Regions from separate parts of the Homo sapiens genome. Here region 1 is linked to region 2. The links are contacts of gene promoters, found by promoter capture Hi-C in blood cells and fetal thymus (Javierre and others, 2016). All regions are on one chromosome and are shown on one strand. Each heading gives the region's core, a stretch centred on a gene start or on the middle of the fragment in contact. The rest is flanking DNA. Distances are from core to core; before and after follow the strand shown.

Region 1 (4,360 bases), core at 888-3,387, 1.1 Mb before region 2:
ACAGAGAATCACTTGAACCCAGGAGGTGGAGGTTGCAATGAGCTGAGATCATGCCACTGCACTCCAGCCTGGGTGACAGAGTGAGACTGTCTCAAAAAAAAAAAAAAAAAGGAAAGAAAAGAAAAGAAACGCAAATCACTAGCCTGGGCAACAACGTGAGACCCCATCTCTACAAAAAACACAAAAATTAGCCAGGCATGGCGATACATGCCTGTGGTCCCAGCTACCCTGGGAGACTGAGGTGGGAGGATGGCTTGAGCCTGGGAAGCAGGCTGCAGTGAGCTATGATTATGCCACTGCACTCTGGGCTGGGTGACAGAGCGAGACTTTGTCTCAAATAAATACATAAATAAATAAAGCAAAACAAAACTGTGTGAAATACCACTTCACACCCACTAAAATGGCTATGATCAAAAAGACAAAAATAAGTATTGGTGATGATATGAAATTAGAACCTCCATACATGTCAAATGTAAAATGCTACAGCCACTTTTGAAACCAGTTTGGCAGTTTCTCAAAATGTTAAAAATAGGCCGGGCACGGTGGGTCACGCCTGTAATCCCAGCACTTTGGGAGGCCGAGGCGGGCGGATCACCTGAGGTCAGGAGTTCGAGACCAGCCTGACCAACATGGAGAAACCCCATCTCTACTAAAAAATACAAAATTAGCTGGGCTTGGTGGCACATGCCTGTAATCCCAGCTACTCAGGAGGCTGAGGCAGGAGAATCGCTTGAACCCGGGAGGCAGAGGTTGCGGTGAGCCGAGATCGCGCCATTGCACTCCAGCTTAGGCGACAAGAATGAAACTCTGTCTCAAAAAAAAAAAAATGTTAAAAATAGGCTTACCAGATGACTCAGCAATTCCCCTTCTAGGTATGTATCCAAGAGAAAGGAGAAAATGTACCCACACAAAGACTTGAATGTTTAGAACAGCAGTATCTACAGTAGCCTAAAAGTAGAAACCAAGGTCTATAACCTGGTGAATAGACAAATAAAATGTGACATACTCATTGTATCTGTTTCAAGTGGCTGCTGTAACAAATTACCACAAACTTTGTGGTTTAAAACAACAGAAACTGGCCGAGTGCAGTGGCTCACGCCTGTAATCCCAGCACTTTGGGAGGCTGAGGTGGAGAGTCCAGGAATTCAAGACGTATCTGGGCAGCATAGTGAGACTTCTGTCTCTACAAAAAAATCAAAATAAAAAATAAGGCTGGGATGGTGGTGTGCGTCTGTAGTCCTGGCTATGTGGGAAACTGAGGTGGGAGGATTGCTTGAGCCCAAGAGGATGAGGCTACAGTGAGCCGAGATTGCACCACTGCACTCAGGTGGGTGACAGAGTGAGACCCTGTCTCAAAAAAAAAAAAAAAAAGAAAAGAAAGAAAGAATGAGAACAGACTGTGGTCATTCAGACTTGGGTATTTAGCAGACATTTTCTTGAACAAAGTGAGCCTGTCATGTCACTTTATGGAAAACAACTAACACCATTTGTGGCGAATAATAACATTCAATTTTTTTTTTTTTTTTTTGAGATGGAGTTTTGCTCTTGCTGCCCAGGCTGGAGTGCAATGGTGCTATCACCGCTCACTGCAACCTCCACCTCTCAGGTTCAAGCGATTCTCCTGCCTCAGCCTCCCGAATAGCTGGGATTACAGGCACTGCCACCACCACACCTGGCTAATTTTTCTATTTTTAGTAGAGATGGGGTTTCACCATGTTGGCCAGACTGGTCTTGAACTCCTGACCTCAAGTGATCCTCCCACCTTGGCCTCCCAAAGTGCTGGGATTACAGACATGAGCCACCGCTCCTGGCCAACATTCAACTTTTTAAGTAAAATTAGAATTTTAGAAAACTGTAAACTTGGCAGCTTCCCAATACTTGACAAGACTTTTCTGATGACACCAATGGCGATATTAACAAATGTATATTTAAATGTGTCAACTTTCAGATGATCATCACAACTTGACAAATCAATCAATATTTTCCTAATATATGGCTAAAAGATTTATTTAAATTCCAAGACAAGCCGAGCACAGTGGCTCATGCCTGTAATCCCAACACTTTGGGAGGCAGGGGCAGGATGATCACTTGAAACCAGGAGTTGGAGACTGCAGCGAGCTATGATCATGCCACTGTACTCCAGTCTGGGTGACAGAGCGAGACCCTGCCTCTTAAAAGTAAATAAATAAAAAATTTCAGCTGGGCACGGTGGCTCATGCCTGTAATCCCAGCACTTTGGGAGGCCGAGGTGGGAGGATGACGAGGTCAGGAGTTTGGACCAGCCTGGCCAACGTGATCAAACCCTGTCTCTATTAAAAATACAAAAATTAGCTGGCATGGTGGCAGGTGCCTGTAATCCTAGCTACTCAGGAGTCTGAAGCAGGAGAATAGCTTGAACCCGGGAGGCAGAGGTTGCAGTGAGCAGAAATCGCATCACTGTACTCCAGCCTGGGCGACAGAGCAAGACTCCATCTCAAAACAAAACAAAACAAAAAATTTCAAGACAGACTGATGAATTGTAATGGAACGGAATTTGAAAAGTTAATTGGTATGATTTCAGATTTAAAATTGCAGCTAATCTTTAAGAAACAACCACTTTCTCAGGTTTTGGTGAAGAAAGTCCATAATTATCCGAAAAGATATAAAATACTTCTTTTTTTAACTACTCATCTATGTGAGCAATGCCACTCTTCTAGTTTTTAAAATGAAAATAGTTATTTTATATAAAATTGTATTTGTCAGCATGTAATAGGATTATTTTTATTTTTATATGATTATTTTATTTTAATTTAAATAAATTAAATATTTTTAAAACTTCTCAGTGTTAATTTTTAATATGGTAAATATAAACAAACACTCTTTTAAGTGCTTAATAATTTTTTGGTCTAACAGGGCCCTGAGACTAAAAAATCTGAGAAACTATTTTATTGAGGCATGCACATCAAAATCCTACTGTGTTTGGCTCTGAAGAGAAGAGGGAAGGAGGATAGAACAGGGGTGGGTTAGAGAAGGGGAGAGGAGAGGTGAATGGGGGGAAGGAGTGGGGGAGGGGGGTCACAGGTACTTCAACTTTATCTGTATTTTTTTTTTTTGAGACAGAGTCTTGCTCTGTTGCCCAGGCTGGAGTGCAATGGTGCGCTCTTGGCTCGCTGCAACCTCCACCTCCCAGGTTCAAGTGATTCTCCTACCTCAGCCTCCAGAGTAGCTGGGATTACAGGCACGCCACCATGCCTGGCTAATTTTTGTATTTTTAGTAGAGACAGGTTACACTATGTCGACCGGGCTGGTCTCGAACTCCTGACCTCAGGTGATCTACCCGCCTCAGCCTCCCAAAGTGCTGGGATTACAGACGTGAGCCACCGCACCCCGTTCTGGTTTTTGTTTGTTTGTTTTGTGATGGTATCTCTCTGTTGCCCAGGCTGGAGTGCAGTGGCATTTAGCTCACTGCCTCCTTGACATCCTGGGTTCAAGTGATCCTTCTGCCTCAGCCTCCTGAGTAGCTGGGACCACAGATGAATACCACCATGCCCAGCTAATTTATTTATTTTTTTGCAGAGATAGGGTCTTGCTATGTTGCCCACCCAGGCTGATCTGGAGCTCTTGGGCTCCAGTGATCCTCCCACGTTGGCCTCCCAAAGTGCTGGAATTACAGGTGTAAGCCACTGTGCCCAGCCATATATAGATGCTTTTAAAGTCCCTGATATTTCCTCAAAACCCATGAAAAATTCTATGGGCTCATAGAAACAAACTATTATGGAGCATTTGTTACATACCATGACCCAAATTAGGGCCTTTATATCCTCGTTTTCTCATTTGATCTTTCAACATCCTAGAAAGTAGGAATTATGAGCTCACCTTACAGCTGAAGAAGCTGAGGATCAGAGAAGTTATTGTTCTTAATTTTTTTTCTGTGGATTTACAACTATTTAAAAAACAAAAAATCAATAGCACACAAATTTGGTGGAACTTTTATTATAATTGCACCAAATCTATAGATAAACTTGATAATACAGTAATGAGACTCCTTATCTAGGAGCAGAATAAGTAGATCAGTAGCTTCGTCAAAGTCTCCCAGAGAATAAATGTTAGAACCAGGGTTTGGTCCCTGATATGACCTTCGTTAAATTGAACCACTGCTATGGTCTGAATGTTTGTGTTCCCCCCACATTCATGTGTTGAAAACTAGACCATGCATGGTGGCTCACGCCTGTAATCCCAGCACTTTGGGAGGCCGAGGCGGGCGGATCACCTGAGGTAAGGAGTTCAAGACCAGCCTGGCCAACATGGTGAAACCCTGTCTACTAAAAATACAACTATCAGCCAGGCGTGGGCATGGGCGCCTGTAATCCCAGCTACTTGG
Region 2 (4,785 bases), core at 1,206-3,705:
TACATGCGTGAGTCACCATGCCCGGCCAATAAACGTTAACTTTTAAGGTCCTGTTCCTGAGACTGCAAGGCCAGGACCAAACTATGGATTATCAAGGTAAATGATATCTAGTCAATGAGCCTACCTCCTCAGAGTGACATCCTCTGCTTCTGTATAGATCACCTTGACATTTCAAACAAGTCACAAATACTTATAATAGTCTCACTTATTTACATATATCTGAGACATACATATTTACTGAATGTTTCCCACAACCCTAAGAGGTAGGTACTAGGAGTATCCCCATTTTACAGATGAAGAAACTGAGGCACAGAGGGGCTAAATAATTTGTCCAGTGAGTAAAAGATGGCTCTGATTTTGTGTTAACTATCTTTTTATTTACTTATTAAACTACCTCTTCTTTCTTATAATCATATCATTAAAGAATGGGTATTTTGCAGTGAGAAAGGGATCCACAACTCACTTTTTCTGTCATCTGTAACAATGTTTTTAAAATGTACTTTCTGCTTAATGAGCTTTGAATCCATCCACAAATACATCAAGTAGCTATACAACGTGGTGGGAAACTTTGTTATTTGCAAATGATAAAACCAAACACAAGGTTGTTCACCAGCTATTACGTAGCAGGCATCACAGAGTACACCTGTAATAGTGCTTTTCCATTACTGAAATTTCAGTACTGGCTCATCTGTTCTCTTGTTTCAAAAATCCAGAAGATGGGAACAAATTTATAAAGACACTTCACAAGGTTATTTATATCTATAAAACCGACTAAGCATGCATTTATTAAGCCCCCAGGTGTTGGGATTGTACTTGGCGAACATCTAAGGCAGTAAAATTACCTTTTCTGTGGTATTCTAGGGTCTACAGGAGCTTTTTTATTTTTGTTTTGAGATGGAGTTTCACTCTTTTGACCTGGCTGGAGTGCAGCGGTGCGATCTCGGCTCACTACAGCCTCCATCTCTCGGGTTCAAGCGATTCTCCTGCCTCAGCCTCCCGAGTAGCTGGGATTACAGGCGCCCGCCACCATGCCAGGCTGACTTTTTTGTATTTTTAGTAGAGACGGGGGTTTCGCTTTTTGGGCGGGCTGGTCTCGAACTACTGACCTCAAGTGATTCGCCCGCTTCGGCCTCCCAAAGTGCTGGGATTACAGACGTGAGCCACCGTGCCCGGCCACAGGAGCTTTTTAGAAGATGTTTTACGCCACACAGTAATGCAACACTGAAAAGACAAGTCGCCTTTTCTCTGCTTTTGCATCTCTTTCCTTAACTTCTGGAAATCTTTAAAGTTTGTCCGCCGTACTTCGACAGTTGTCTACCGAAGATTCTCAGCACATCTACCGGCTGAGCCCTGAATGTGTCTCTGAATTTCTCCCGTTGAAAGTCGAGGTCCCTGGGCTGGGCAGAATCTGGGCATGCGCAGAAGCTCAGCCAACCCCGGGGCTCCGCCTCCCCTCCTCTAGCGAGGGGAAACGGGTGAGCGGCAGCGCGCGTGCGCAAGCTTGGTGGTGGGTTGCGCCTGCAGAGCGCATGGGCAGATAAACCGTACGTCCGTTTGTCCGGACCGGAGGGGCAGTGGGCGCCATCTTCTTCTGGGCTCACTGAGGGTCTACCTGTTTTGGGGAGGCTGCTGCGACGAAGAGTTCCCTCAGCCTCCGGCCTTGTGTGTCCGACTCGGCAGCAGTGGTGTGTGTTTATTGCCAAGTGCGAAGCAGTTCCCCTCGGGGCGCCGGGGGTGGGGAGGGCTGGGCGACCAAGCCGGAAGAACGGGGAAAGGCGGGACCGGCGGCCGCGCCAGTATCTAGCGTAGCTCCTGCCGTTAGGGCACCCTCTTTTCTTGCTAAAACACCGACTCTTCCTTTCCCGTCAGCTTCCATGTGGTGGTGTATGTGCGCTTCCCAGGGATCTTGAGAGTGAAGATCTCGAAGGATTTCATAGGTATATTTTTTTCTTTGCTATGTCATCGTAGTCAGTGGTGGCAGAAAAGCGCTGCAGGCCCAGCTCGTTAGGCTTGAGAAGGGCAAGTGTTTTCAGTTAGATCTGGGGGCAGTTCACCCTCTGGCGAGTTAGGGTGGAATGTTTGCCCTTGAGACGGCGTAACGGAAAGGCACGGAGGTTGGGCGGTCCAGGTTAATTTGAAGGCTGATTTTGGCTGAAAGTCTGGCGACAACATCGGATCCCACGTAGCAACTTTGGCCTGGCGCGAAAGAAGGAAGCTCTGACCCCTGGGAGTTGTGGACAAAGGCTTTGGGCTGTAGAATCGATGCCTTCGGATGATTCCCGTTTGAGGATGTTGGGAGAAATCCTGTGCCATGTGGATTCGTCTTCATTTACAGTTCTTCCTAGGGACTGTGGCTCTCATTGGTCATTCCTTTGGTTTTTATTTTAAACATCTACATTATAAAAGGTGGATCATCGTAAAGAATAATTATGGGTTGGTGTAGATTATTTTCTGCAGGGGAAACTCACGTTTAGAGTGTGAATATGCTACATCATGACCTTGGGCTTTACGAAGTAGTCGCAGAGTTAAAAAAAATTCTCTCCCTCACCATATCTGGAAAATGACTTTTTCTTCGCTAGTTAAAAATCAAATGGATCTGATGAGATATTACTTATTTAAATTCTGTCTCCCTCCCGTTTCCCTCTCTGTATCCCCTTAAGTCTTGATTAGAAGAGGCACGTTACGTATTGTTTAGTTATAATGGTGATTAAGTGGGATGAATCGTTGGATAAAAATAGCAGTTATTTAAAATGCGCTTTAAATTTCACTGACTTAAGTGATCTTTTAGGGACCCACTCTTCTTTTCATAGAAATTTTAACAGATTATTGTCTTCAAATGAACACAAAGGCACAAAAATACTTTTTGCATTCATAACTAGAAAAACGCAAAATTTTAATTGCAGACTACTTGAGGGTAATTTTCGTGTTTTGCTTTTGTGTAATTTAGTGTGTTAAGAGTTGAATTTCTGGAGAATTTGCTTAAGGAAATATAGCATGTTGGAACCACAGAAGTGCCCATTTTGAGAGCTGGTCTCTTACAGTTGGTCTCCAAGGTGTGTTATTGTAGAGGCATAAATGGTACATTACCCTACTGTCTCAAGGGTAGAGAAGTTTAAGCATTAGTTTTGTTTAACTGTGGCAAATGAGAATAAACTTTCTAAATAGTCTGCTTGAATTGGAATTCATGAGATTTGTGCTCATGAAACTACTTGGTTAAAAGATAGTTTTTAAGTGAGGTAGGATAAATTACTAGAGTTTTTTTGAATTTGAGATATAATTATTCCTTGAAACGTCTCTAATTTCTCTTGTAGATGAATTTATGTTCCCAGGGTAAATCCCGTTAAAATTTTTTTAAAAGCTTAGGAGAGACAAGAATATGTATAGCTTATGGTGCTTTCTAAAATATCTTAAAAAGAGTAGCTAAGCCAATTTGCATAGGAGGGAGTCTTGGGACTTTAATATGGATAAAGTAAGTATTCCAGAAGCCATTTGTAGTTTTTGTTGAAGTGTTAGTATGGATATTGGTTTGTTGAAGAAAATAGGCTTTTTTTCTTTTTTTGTTACTGTGCAAATACTTTAATAGCAAACCTGATTAATATTTTTCAGATGTAGAATGTGTGAAGTAATTTGATGTCTTTGCTAGTTTAGCTTCTGGTTAATCTACGTACCCTTTTTTAAAGGAAAACAGACCTCAGTGAATGTATCTTCAGACCCCCACTTTGGGGAACAGTGGTACTTAAGTGTAAGTACTGGATTCTGGATTAACGCAACATTTATTTGTACATTAAAGACATGTAAATTACTCCAGGCGCAGTGGCTCATACCTGTAAATCCTAGCACTGTGGGAGGCTGAGGTGAGCTGATTGCTTGAGCCCATGAGTTCCCTACCAGCCTGGGCAACATGGTGAAACCCTGGCTCTACAAAAAATACAAAAATTAGCCGGGTGTGGTGGTGCACACCTGTAGTCCCAGCTACTGGGGAGGCTGAGGTGGGAGCATTGCCTGAGCCTGGGTAAGTCGAGGCTGTAGTGAGCCAAGATCGCACCAGTGCACTCCAGCCTGGGTAGCAGAGCAAGAGAGACCCTGTCTCCCCCACCAAAGAAAGTGAGTGTAAATTATAATTATTTATTTGGCAAGTCTTCATGAAATAGTTTGGGTATCCCTGAAAGTATTAAACGCAAACTTCTTTAAAAAATTACATTGAGATTTTTCAGTAAACGGGTAATCCCAGTATTCCAAGTTAATTTTTAATTTTACTTTTCTACATCATCATTTGGGTTTCCTTAGTAGAGTGCAGAATAGTTGTTTGAAATGGAAATCTGCTATTGGCATTATTAATAAGATAAATAGCATTTTCTGTTTGGCTTGAGATGAATTGTAACAGTTACTATTTTTGCAATAGGAGTGGTATTGAGATTTTTAACTTTAGGGATATTGTAGTATTTGCCTTAATTATACTGGCTTCATGAAATTTGGTTCTGTGCTTGGATGTATGAGCTGTTTATATAGACCTTTAAATTGTATCCAAACAATAGCCCATAGGTTTGGATTTATTGTTTTAAAAATTGATTTTTGAATTTCAGGCTTTGCTGTTTTATTCATTTATTGTGTAATTTTGAATGGTTGCCTTAATTTGATTTGGTCTTATGTTTTGAAAGGGAGGAGAACAGCACGAGAGTTGGATATAAATATGTACTAGATTTTTGGATTTTCATGTGGCAAAATGATTGAAGTTCTTTTTTTTTTTTTTTTTTTTTTGAACTTTGGGTATTGAGATTTTACTTG

The links. Contacts are between HindIII fragments. The CHiCAGO score rates a contact against its expected background, and 5 or more counts as called.
Region 1: a fragment that was not itself captured here is called in contact with the fragment with the promoter of RBM12B-AS1 in region 2 in 1 of 17 cell types (total CD8 T cells); the score reaches 6.0 in total CD8 T cells.

Annotation. Positions count from the first base shown.
Region 1 is chr8:94,816,063-94,820,422 of GRCh38, reverse strand. No RefSeq gene overlaps it. Among named protein-coding and RNA genes, the nearest start is that of INTS8, 5.0 kb to the left of the region's middle. The HindIII fragment of the contact is 7,350 bases long and covers 1-4,360 here.
Region 2 is chr8:93,737,781-93,742,565 of GRCh38, reverse strand. It overlaps RBM12B-AS1 (RBM12B antisense RNA 1), which reads right to left and starts at 2,455. Exons shown (of 1, transcript NR_027259.1): 1 at 1,747-2,455. It overlaps RBM12B (RNA binding motif protein 12B), which reads left to right and starts at 1,557. Exons shown (of 4, transcript NM_001377960.1): 1 at 1,557-1,685; 2 at 1,870-1,937. RBM12B-DT (RBM12B divergent transcript) reads right to left here and starts at 1,483. Exons shown (of 2, transcript NR_183450.1): 1 at 1,107-1,483. RefSeq lists an enhancer at 1,531-1,650. The HindIII fragment of the contact is 1,858 bases long and covers 1,503-3,360 here.